Linked DNA regions of Homo sapiens: all the other regions are linked to region 3. The links are contacts of gene promoters, found by promoter capture Hi-C in human tissues and cell types (Jung and others, 2019). All regions are on one chromosome and are shown on one strand. Each heading gives the region's core, a stretch centred on a gene start or on the middle of the fragment in contact. The rest is flanking DNA. Distances are from core to core; before and after follow the strand shown. Region 1 overlaps FAM168A (family with sequence similarity 168 member A). Region 2 overlaps UCP3 (uncoupling protein 3). Region 3 holds the start of MRPL48 (mitochondrial ribosomal protein L48). Region 4 has its middle 15 kb from the start of DNAJB13.

What was found. The method cuts DNA at HindIII sites, captures the fragments that hold promoters and counts their contacts. A contact is called where the count stands out against the background at its distance.
Region 1: a contact is called between a fragment that was not itself captured here and the fragment with the promoter of MRPL48 in region 3, in 1 of the 25 tissues and cell types used here (hippocampus).
Region 2: a contact is called between a fragment that was not itself captured here and the fragment with the promoter of MRPL48 in region 3, in 1 of the 25 tissues and cell types used here (thymus).
Region 4: a fragment that was not itself captured here is called in contact with the fragment with the promoter of MRPL48 in region 3 in 2 of the 25 tissues and cell types used here (H1 embryonic stem cells and mesenchymal stem cells).

What each region holds. Positions count from the first base shown.
Region 1 is chr11:73,580,247-73,582,946 of GRCh38, reverse strand. All of the region lies in intron 1 of FAM168A (family with sequence similarity 168 member A), which reads left to right. It also overlaps the pseudogene HMGN2P38. Among named protein-coding and RNA genes, the nearest start is that of FAM168A, 17 kb to the left of the region's middle. The HindIII fragment of the contact is 9,693 bases long and covers 1-2,700 here.
Region 2 is chr11:73,998,031-74,000,730 of GRCh38, reverse strand. It overlaps UCP3 (uncoupling protein 3), which reads left to right. Exons shown (of 7, transcript NM_003356.4): 7 at 1-454. Among named protein-coding and RNA genes, the nearest start is that of UCP3, 9.7 kb to the left of the region's middle. The HindIII fragment of the contact is 6,388 bases long and covers 1-2,700 here.
Region 3 is chr11:73,786,476-73,789,175 of GRCh38, reverse strand. MRPL48 (mitochondrial ribosomal protein L48) reads right to left here and starts at 1,302. Exons shown (of 8, transcript NM_016055.6): 1 at 1,184-1,302. The coding sequence starts at 1,204. RefSeq lists enhancers at 1,089-1,168, 1,309-1,368. The HindIII fragment of the contact is 15,089 bases long and covers 1-2,700 here.
Region 4 is chr11:73,935,121-73,937,820 of GRCh38, reverse strand. No RefSeq gene overlaps it. Among named protein-coding and RNA genes, the nearest start is that of DNAJB13, 15 kb to the left of the region's middle. RefSeq lists an enhancer at 392-1,026. The HindIII fragment of the contact is 5,193 bases long and covers 1-2,700 here.

The DNA.
Region 1 (2,700 bases), core at 103-2,602, 210 kb after region 3:
TACTTTAGCCCACTCTCATGTAGCTTTCCTTTACTCTTTGCCCATAGCTGGGTCAGTGGAGCTGTGTACACAGTAGACACAATGAGACTCAGAAAGAACTTGATTTATGACGGATCCCTGGAATCTCACTTGGAATGAATGCAGATCACATTGGTAAATGGAGAAGACGGGACCTTATGATTGCTTTTCTGACTCAGTCTAGAGTTCTTTTTTCTGCTTCAAAGTTTCCTCTTTATTAACCTTTGGTCAGTTTTAATTTGTAGATAATATAAAATGAATGCTATAAAACCAAATTGTATCAAATGCTTGTGTATTTGATTTTTACAACTGAAATATAAGACTTGACTTAACTATTTGATGGTAGAAAGATTGAGACTTTAAGAAATGTGGGTTTTTAATTACCCTATTAAGCCATTAGTAGTTTCTGGCAGGCAATTTTTTTTTTCCCCAGGCTGGAGTGCAATGGCACCATCTCGACTCACTGCAAGCTCCGCCTCCTGGGTTCATGCCAATCTCCTGCCTCAGCCTCCCGAGTAGCTGGGACTACAGGTGTGTGCCTCCACGCCTGGCTAATTTTTTTTGTATTTTTAGTAGAGATGGGGTTTCACTGTGTTAGCCGGGATGGTATCGATCTCCTGACCTCGTGATCCACCCACCTTGGCCTCCCAAAGTGCTGGGATTACAGGCATGAGTCACGGTGCCCGGCCTCTGGCAGGCAATTTTAATTAGGATTCCCCAAAATATTTTGCTGATTAGAGTCTTTGTAGCAAGCAAAAATAATCACTTATGCATCTATGCATTATTTTAGTCAACATGGATATCAGCCTCTATGTTAGGTTGGTTTTGATGATACACGGAGATGAGTAAGGTGTAGTTGCTGTCTTCAAGGAGCTCCAGATGCAATAGAGACAAGGTATAAACAAATAAGTTGGCTGGGTGCGGTGGCTCATGCCTGTAATCCCAGCACTTTGGGAGGCCGAGGTGGGCGGATCACAAGGTCAGGAGTTTGAGACCATCCTGGCCAACGTGGTGAAACCTCGTCTCTACTAAAAATACAAAAATTAGCTGGGCATGGTGGCGCATGCCTGTAGTCCCAGCTACTCAGGAGGCTGAGGCAGGATAATCGCTTGAACCCGGGAGGCAGAGTTTGCAGCGAGGCGAGATTGCGCCACTGCACTCCAGCCTGGGCAATAGAGGGAGACTCCATCTCAAAAAAAAAACAAAAACCAAGTTACAGTTCAATGTTATAGATGTTATAAAATAAGTAGCAGAGACAGGGTATTCAAACCTTTTTTTAGGGAAGAGTTCTTGGAGGAAGAGTAACCTGAGCTTATTTTTGAAAGAAGACTAGGTCTTATGTGTGGACAATTCTGGACATGGAGTCAGAAGAACTGAATTTGAACCCCAGCTTAGCCACTTACTAGCTGTCTGACTTGGACAGGTTGTTTAAGTACTCTGTGAATCTCAGTTTTTTCCCATGTAAAGTGGGGACAGTCATATCTATATCCACCTTTGAAATTCAATACATTTGAAAGAAGCTCATAAATGTGATATACAAGTATTCTGTTTTTTAGCTCATAAATGTGGTATACAAGTATTATATTCTGTTTTTTTCCAAGCCAAACTGTATCCAGCTTTATTAAAGATACTGTCCGTAAACAATCATGGCATTTCAGACAGGACATGTGCAGACAATCGTTAACAGTATACAACAACTTTCAAACTCCCTTCTTTAATGGCCTACCAAAAATCAGAAAGCCACTATAAAACCCAATGAAGTCTTCATCTGATGCTCTGAACAGGGAAAGTTTAGAGTGAGGGTTGACATTTCACATTTAGCATGTTGTTTAACAACTTTTCATAAGCTGACCCTGACTTTCAGGAAGTGAAGTGAAAGTGACAGAATTTACCTGAAGATCCACAATCTAGAAACGGAACCACTGCTCTTTTGACAGGTGCCATCTCAGTGGCATCACTGGAAAGTCCAGATTGCCTGACACACTGGTAACCAATGATTAGGGGTCAGGTCCCAACAGATGTCTGGGTTTAAGGGAGTTAAGTCTAGCTGAAAGGTAGAAAGGGAGAAGAGGACATAAAAACAAATTTGTTTTTCCATACCACAAAGCTTTTGTGCCAAGGTGGCCATGTGTGTCAAAGTCAGGGAATCCCTGCTCCTGGGAGCCAAGAGGAAGTCTCTCAAAACTGGAAGGGAAAGGTGTTTTCCCCACATCAATCCAGCTTTGGAGACATTTTATTAGTGACATAAGCCCCTTCCTCTCAAAACAACAAGGACATGTTCTGTGTGCTAACAACATAGCTTAAAAAAGTAAAACAAAATTCTGCATTTTTATAAAACTTGATTAAAAATAGTATTTCAAACTGTACAGTCACCAGAAGTACATGGTTATTAAAAATGCACACACTTCGCTTGGCATCTCCAGCACCTTCAGCTTTCTGTCCCTGGTCTGTTTTGGCATCTCCATTTTCTGTAGGGTTATCCCCATCCTGGCCAGCCTCAGCTTTTCCCTTTTTCCCTTTGGGTACCTTCTCTCCCTTCTTTGCAGGGGCTTTTTTGGCCTGGGCTCTATCTTTGGAGGAGCAGGTTTAGCAGACAACCTTGTGGATCTTCTCTGTGGTTCATCCTTCACCTTGGCTTTATCTCCTTTAGCATCCCCTTCAGCCTTTCTTGGGCATGGTGGC
Region 2 (2,700 bases), core at 53-2,552, 210 kb before region 3:
GAGCCATCCCTTCCCTGTCCACCTCACCAGGGGTGCTATGACATGCAAGTGAGAAGCTGGGCATGAACGCACTTTATAAAAGCAAAAGCTCTGTGTAAATCTAACTACAAGGACAATGCCTTGGGAGAGATTTTGTCGGGACAGAGAGGAGTTGCCAGGGAAGAAGGTTTGAAAGATACGGTTGTCTAGAGGTGAGACCAAAGGATCCAGAGACTTGGGGACCAGAGGTGACAGTGGATGACGTGAAGCCACAGGAGCCCCACCCCCATGCAGCCTCTTCCCCACCCCCCCCACCACGTGCTCAATCATGAGTACCTCAAAGGATTGTTGGGCTTGGGGGAAAAGAGGTGGATTCCTGGGCAAGAACCTAAAGTAGCAGGACTCGGAATTCTCGGGAAATTATTATGACTCAATAAAAGAATTCACACCTTAGGTGTGGGAGTAAGAACAGCCACTTCTCTGCCTTTTCTTTCTTGGAATTTTCCTTTCTCACTTCTATTTCAGGCTTTCTATGTGTCAGGGCAGGGCCAGATCCAGCCCCACATGCCTACACTTCATCTGCCCCCTCTCACCCTGTTTAATTGCAGGCAAGTAGCTTTATTTTTTTAGGGTTCCAGCTCCTGCTTCTGCAAAAGGCAGGGTTGAACCAGACGACCGACTTCCAAGCTTAAGACTGTACATTTTTCGAATTGATAATGGGGACCCAAAATGCCACTATCTTTTTCTACTTCTTGGCAGCCTTGCGTAGCTCTGATGATTGTCAGGACTGGGTTCAAACCTCACCCCATTCTACCTTACTAACCACCTAGCCACAGGGAATCCTTGCACCTTGGTGTGCTACCAGAGAAGTGGGAATAACAATCGCTGCTTCACAGGCTTGTTGTGAGGGTTGACCTAAAACTCCTTGGAAAGCAGACATGTGGTGTGCACCTGCTACCTGGGAGGCTTAAGCGAGAGGACTGCTTGAGCCCAGGAGTTCAGGGCTGCAGTGAGCCATGACTGCACCTGTGAATAATGACTGCACTCCAGCCTTGGCAACAGAGCATAACTCCTTCTCTGAAACAAAACAAACAAAAAATCGTTGGCATACAGGAGGCACTCGGTAATGTCATTTCCCTGCTTCCCTGCTCCTACCCCTCCAGACCCTGGGAAAAAGCAAATATCTATTCATCCTCAGCACTTTCCTAAATTTAAATTATAACTTGAGATCATCTATGTATACAAACTGGAGAGTTCATACAAAAGCAAAAAAAAATTATTTTGATTTAATGTCTGGCTTGGTTTTCAAATAAAACCCATATTTTGAAAAGTTTCCGGTTGGTGCAGTGGCTCACGCCTTTGGGAGGCCGAGGCGGGCGGATCACTTGAGGTCAAGAGTTTGAGACCAGCCTGGCCAACATGGTGAAACTCTGTCTCTACTAAAAATACCAAAAAAAAAAAAAAAAATTACCCAGGCATGGTGGTGGGTGCCTGTAATCCTAGCTACTCGGGAGGCTGAGGCAAGAGAATCACTCGAACCCAGGAGACTGAGGTTGCAGTGAGCCAAAACCACACCACTGCACTCCAGCCTAGGCGAGACTCTGTCTCAAAAAAAAAAATTAAATTGAATTGAATTAAATTAAAAGTTTCCCTTTTTAGCCAGGCATGGTGACATGTGCCTGCGGTCCCAGCTACTCGGGGGGCTCAGGTGGGAGGATCACTTGAGCCCAGGAGGCGGAGGTTGCAGTGAGCCGAGCTTACACCACTGCACCCTAGCCTAGGTGACAGAGTGAGACCCCATCTCAAAAAACAAAAACGAAAAAAGAAAAAAGAGTTTCTCTTTCTTTTGACTTGACTGACATGTGCAAATCACTCTCAAACTCCTGGTCTCAGTTTGTAAGTTTCTAGGGCCAGGAACTATATCTTCCATGAATTTCCATATGGCAATATTAACACACCACCTACCCAGAGGATGCTATTCAGGTGATGATTCTGAGAAAGGGAGGATAAAATATTCTAAGAGATATTTTGACTGGGATCAGGAGCCTACTAACTGCCAAGTCTAGCCTTTTGGAGAAAGAAAAACGAGATTGGTGAGTCTTGTGAGGTTTCTAGGCCAAAATACTAGATCTCTTTCTCCACTGTTTTTTTTTTTTTTTTTTTTTTTTTTGAGTCAAAGTCTTGCTCTGTGCCCAGGCTAACACAATCTTGGCTCACAGCAACATCCACCTCCCAGGTTCAAGTAATTCTCCTGCCTCAGACTCTCGAGTAGCTGGGACTACAGGTGCGTGCCACCACACTCTGGCTAGTTTTTGTATTTTTAGTAAAGATGGGGTTTTCACTGTGTTGACCAGGCTGGTCTCAAACTCCTGACCTCAGATGATCCACCCACCTCAGCCTCCCAAAGTGCTGGGATTACAGGCGTGAGCCACTGCTCCCAGTCTCTTTCCCCACTTCTTAAAGGCAGAGATTCAACCAGATGACCTGAAGCTCTTTAGTTCTGTGATTCCAAGGACTGAGAGACAGTTTCTCCCAGGCTACGGTGTGAACACCTTTTCAACGCTGGCCTCAATTTATGCTTCCAGGAAACCAGGGATGTGAATTCATGAGAAGGTCAGATTACCAGCTGAGGCCAGTTTCTAAGTTCTGTGCATCCATTTCCCCACCACACTCCTAGAGACACCACCTCCAGTCAAGTGATTCAAAAGAAATCTGCTTTTT
Region 3 (2,700 bases), core at 53-2,552:
TTTTTTTCTATTATCTTGGCACCATATTTGGCCAAATTCTTACAAACTGGCTAAGGTGAACAAGTGAATTGTTTCATAAAGGATGAAGTGAGGCGTGGGCCCTCACACATTCAAGGGCAGCCCCAAGGTAACCACAGGTAGACCCATGAGCTGCAACGACCATGCTGACCTATGAATCATGGAAATATAGTTGCCACAATTAATGCCTAAAACAAAATTTTAATATAAATTGCTAAAATGAGTCATTAATCTAAGCAGCATGATACAATTGAAAGAGCACAAATGAAATCTGTTAAATCTGTTAAGGGAACGGGAGAAAGCCCAGGAACACATTTATAGTGGTTCATACGGTTTTATGACAGTCACTTAAATAAGGTTTTGGAAACGAAAATGTTGTTAATTATTGCAGGGCGCGGTGGCTCATGCCTGTAATCCCGGCACTTTGGGAGGCCGAGGCGGGCAGATCACGTGGTCAGGAATTCGAGACCAGCCTGGCCAACACAGTGAAACCCCGTCTCTACTAAAAATACAAAAATTAGCCCGGCATGGTGTCCCGCGCCTGTAGTCCCAGCTACTGAGGAGGCTGAGGCAGGAGAATCGCTTGAACCCGGAAGGCGAAGGTTGTGGTGAGCCGGGATCGCACCACTGCACTCCAGCCTGGGCAACAGAGCGAAATCCGTCAAAAAAAAAAAAAAAAAAAAAAGAAAGAAAAGAACAAAAACCTAGTTTATTACTGCTGTTTCCTTATTACCAGGTAGCTTCACATCCTCATCAGTTCAGCAAGTCAAAACTGCATTCTTAGAAAAAATTCTGGAAGTTGATAACTGAATGCAAATATAAAATGACCTGCCCAAGGTCACACAGTTAATCGGGACCGTATCCTGGTGTCGTGATTCCCATCGCAGAGCTCTCCCTTTTCCAGAAACTGGGTGGAGAGAGTGGCATGTGGTGTGGGCGTGGCACGGGTCGGCTCGGCAGAGTTCGCCCCGGGTGGAAAGGAATCTGCTCAGCCCCTTCAACGCCAGGCAGCCGCATGTGCTGCTGGGAAGGACCTTGGGCGCCCCAGTGTCTCATCCCCGGATGTCCGCGCGCCGCCACCTCCCCGCTCTGCACCCTCCGCCATCTCCCCTCTCTGCACCGTCCGCCATCTCCCCGCGCCCCGCGTGCGTGGAATCTACGTTACCTTTTCCAAGGTTCCGCTCATCCTTTGCTGCTGCGCGGCCTCTAGCTGTGCAAACCGAAGACCGGACCCTGCAGCCGCGTTCCCAGGGCGTCTGAAAACACTGAAGGAACGGCCTTGACCAGGTGCAGCAGCAATATCCCACCGAGACTCACTCAACTTCCACATCATTTTAGTTCCGGAAGCTTCTGAAATTCAGAGTCTAGAAATTCTCCTGCTTTCCACCCTCACTCAGGTTGTCACATTCACTGCTGTTTCTCCAGAAAGAATTAATTACCATCTCTGTGTTACCCCAGTACTTAGCACACAATTCTAATTTTTCGCTTACAATATTATACACTAATGATTTGTTACCACCTCTTCTCTGTATTTGAAAGTTCTTAAAAGACTGAGATCCTGTCTGATTAATTCCTTTCAGCGTCTAGCACAGATCTGACTTTTTTGTTTGTTTGAGACGGAGTCTCGCTCTGTTGCGCAGGCTGGAGTGTAGTGGCACGATCTCAGCTCACTGCCACCTCCGCCTCTCGGGTTCAAGCAATTCTGTCTCCAAGTAGCTGGGATTACAGGTGCCCGCCACCACGCCCGCCTAATTTTTATATTTTTACTAGAGATGAGGTTTCTCCATGTTTGTCAGGCTGGTCTTGAACTCCCGACCTCAGGTGATCCGCCCGCCTCGGCCTCCTAAAGTGCTGGGATTACAAGCGTGAGCCACCAGGCCCAGCCAATCATCTCTTAAATTGAGTTTAGAAGTCAGATTTCCACGTCCTGTGCTAGATGCTGGAATAAATTAGTCAGGATCTCAGTCCTTGAGGAACTCAATCAAAATAATAGCAAAAAATAATTAGTATCTAGTAACAAATAATTAGTATCTAGTATGGTAAGTGAAATACCAGAATTGTGTGCAAAGTACTGAGGTAACACAGATACGACAATTAATTATGCTTGGAAATATAATGGACCAGGCATACCTCCTCCAGTACAGTGATTGATTATTGCCTAATAAATGCTATTGGGGTTTTAGAAGTGAAATTTTAAATAAGAAAAAAAAAATCAATCAAATGCTAGTATGTGCCAGGTCGGTTCTTTATGGGTGTATGGGTTCATTTAGTCTTTCCAATAACCCTATGAGGCTGAGGATCATTATACCCATTTCACAGATGAGGAACAGAGACAGGAAGAAGGTACCTAGTTAACATAATGTTATATAAGTGGTGAGCTGTTTCATTTCCGTGCCTGTGCTTCATCTATTTTATGGGACTGTGACTATAGGTTTGCAAAAGGGCAGGTTGGCAGCCAGAGAGTTTCTTTCCTTGTCTAGTCCAGGTAAATACAATCTAATAAGATACATGGCCGGGTGCGGTGGCTCATGCCTGTAATCCCAGCACTTTGGGAGGCCAAGGCAGGCGGATCACAAGGTCGGGAGTTTGAGACCAGCCTGACCAAAACTGTGAAACTCCGTCTCTACTAAAAATACAAAAATTAGCTGGGCGTAGTGGTGCATGCCTGTAATCCCAGCTACT
Region 4 (2,700 bases), core at 47-2,546, 150 kb before region 3:
AAAAAAAAAAAGAATCTCACATCACTCATATAGGGAAAAAGGAGTGCTGTGTTTAAAATCTCATCTCTCCTCGCTCTCCCTCTCCCGTCTCCCTCTCCCTCTCCCGTCTCCCTCTCCCTCTCCCTCTCCCTCTCCCGTCTCCCTCTCCCTCTCCTTTCCACGGTCTCCCTCTCATGCCGGGCCAAAGCTGGACTGTACTGCTGCCATCTCGGCTCGCTGCAGCCTCCCTGCCTGATTCTCCTGCCTCAGCCTGCCGAGTGCCTGCGATTGCAGGCGCGCGCCGCCACGCCTGACTGGTTTTCGTGTTTTTTTGGTGGGGACAGGGTTTCGCTGTGTTGGCCGGACTGGTCTCCAGCTCCTAGCCGCGAGTGTTCCGCCAGCCTCGGCCTCCCGAGGTGCCGGGATTGCAGACGGAGTCTCATTCACTCAGTGCTCAATGGTGCCCAGGCTGGAGTGCAGTGGCATGATCTCGGCTCGCTACGGCCTCCACCTCCCAGCCGCCTGCCTTGGCCCCCCAAAGTGCGGAGATTGCAGCCTCTGCCCGGCCGCCACCCCATCTGGGAAGTGAGGAGCGTCTCTGCCTGGCTGCCCATCGTCTGGGATGTGAGGAGCCCCTCTGCCTGGCTGCCGAGTCTGGAAAGTGAGGAGCGTCTCTGCCCAGCCGCCATCCCACCTGGGAAGTGAGGAGCACCTCGTCCCGGCCGCCATCCCATCTAGGAAGTGAGGAGCGTCTCTGCCCGGCAGCCCATCGTCTGAGATGTGGAGAGCGCCTCTGCCCCGCCGCCTCATCTGGGATGTGAGGAGCGCCTCGGCCCGGCCGCGACCCCGTCTGGGAGGTGAGGAGCGTCTCTGCCCGGCCGCCCCGTCTGAGAAGTGAGGAGACCCTCCGCCTGGCAACCGCCCCGTCTGAGAAGTGAGGAGCCCCTCCGCCTGGCTGCCACCCCGTCTGGGAAGTGAGGAGCGTCTCCGCCCGGCAGCCACCCCGTCCGGGAGGGAGGTGGGGGTCAGCCCCCCACCCGGCCAGCCGCCCCGTCCGGGAGGGAGGTGGGGGGCTCTGCCCCCCGCCCGGCCAGCCGCCCCGTCTGGGAGGTGAGGGGCGCCTCTGCCCGGCCGCCCCTACTGGGAAGTGAGGAGCCCCTCTGCCCAGCCAGGAGCCCCTCTGCCCAGCCAGCTGCCCCATCTGGGAGGGAGGTGGGGGGGTCAGCCCCCCGCCCGGCCAGCCGCCCCGTCCGGGAGGTGAGGGGCGCCTCTGCCCGGCCGCCCCTACTGGGAAGTGAGGAGCCCCTCTGCCCGGCCAGCTGCCCCGTCCGGGAGGGAGGTGGGGGAGTCAGCCCCCCGCCCGGCCAGCCGCCCCGTCCGGGAGGGAGGTGGGGGGGTCAGCCCCCTGCCCGGCCAGCCGCCCCGTCCGGGAGGTGAGGGGCGCCTCTGCCCGGCCGCCCCTACTGGGAAGTGAGGAGCCACTCTGCCCGGCCAGCCGCCCCATCCAGGAGGGAGGTGGGGGGCTCAGCCCCCTGCCCGGCCAGCCGCTCCGTCCGGGAGGGAGGTGGGGGGGTCAGCCCCCCACCCGGCCAGCCGCCCCGTCTGGGAGGGAGGTTGGGGGGTCAGCCCCCCGCCTGGCCAGCCACCCGGTCCGGGAGCTGAGGGGCGCCTCTGCCCGGCTGCCCCTACTGGGAAGTGAGGAGCCCCTCTGCCCGGCCACCACCCCGTCTGGGAGGTGTACCCAACAGCTCATTGAGAATGGGCCATGATGACGATGGCGGTTTTCTGGAATAGAAAAGGGGGCAAGGTGGGGAAAAGATTGAGAAATCGGATGGTTGCCGTGTCTGTGTAGAAAGAAGTAGACATGGGAGAATTTTCATTTTGTTCTGTACTAAGAAAAATTCTTCTGCCTTGGGATCTTGTTGATCTATGACCTTACCCCCAACCCTGTGCTCTCTGAAACATGTGCTGTGTCCACTCAGGGTTAAATGGATTAAGGGCGGTGCAAGATGTGCTTTGTTAAACAGATGCTTGAAGGCAGCATGCTCCTTAAGAGTCATCACCACTCCCTAATCTCAAGTACCCAGGGACACAAACACTCTGCCTAGGAAAACCAGAGACCTTTGTTCACTTGTTTGTCTGCTGACCTTCCCTCCACTAGTGTCCTATGACCCTGCCAAATCCCCCTCTGTGAGAAACACCCAAGAATGATCAATTAAAAAAAAAATAAAATTAAAAAGAAAAAAAAAAAAAAAGAAAAAAGAAAAAAGTCCTCCCATAAGGAAAGATGATCAATTCTTATGTATCGTTCTAGGGATATAAATATTCAGGAGGCTTTTCAGAATAAAAGTTAAATCATTTAAAAAAAAAAAAAGAAATAAACTTACTTGAATTAAAAAAACAAACAAAAAAAATCTCATCTCTAACTGCAGAAGGAAAAGCTTGGTTCCCTGATGGCATTTCAGATACTAGTGCCTAAGATATTGAAGAACTTTCCTGGGTCTCTGAAACCACACTGTTACAGAGGATGGCCTGCCTTGAAGTAGCTCTTTCATATTATTTGAGGCAAAAGGCTTACTTTAGGTGTATTTGGAGTAAGTAAAACACGCTTTTGGAGGTGGGCCAAAGGACAGAAAAGTCAATTAAAGAGCTAAAAAATAAACTGCAAGTTTTGGGTAAATTGAGTGGTCAGAAAGTGACCAAATCTTCATGCTGCCGAGC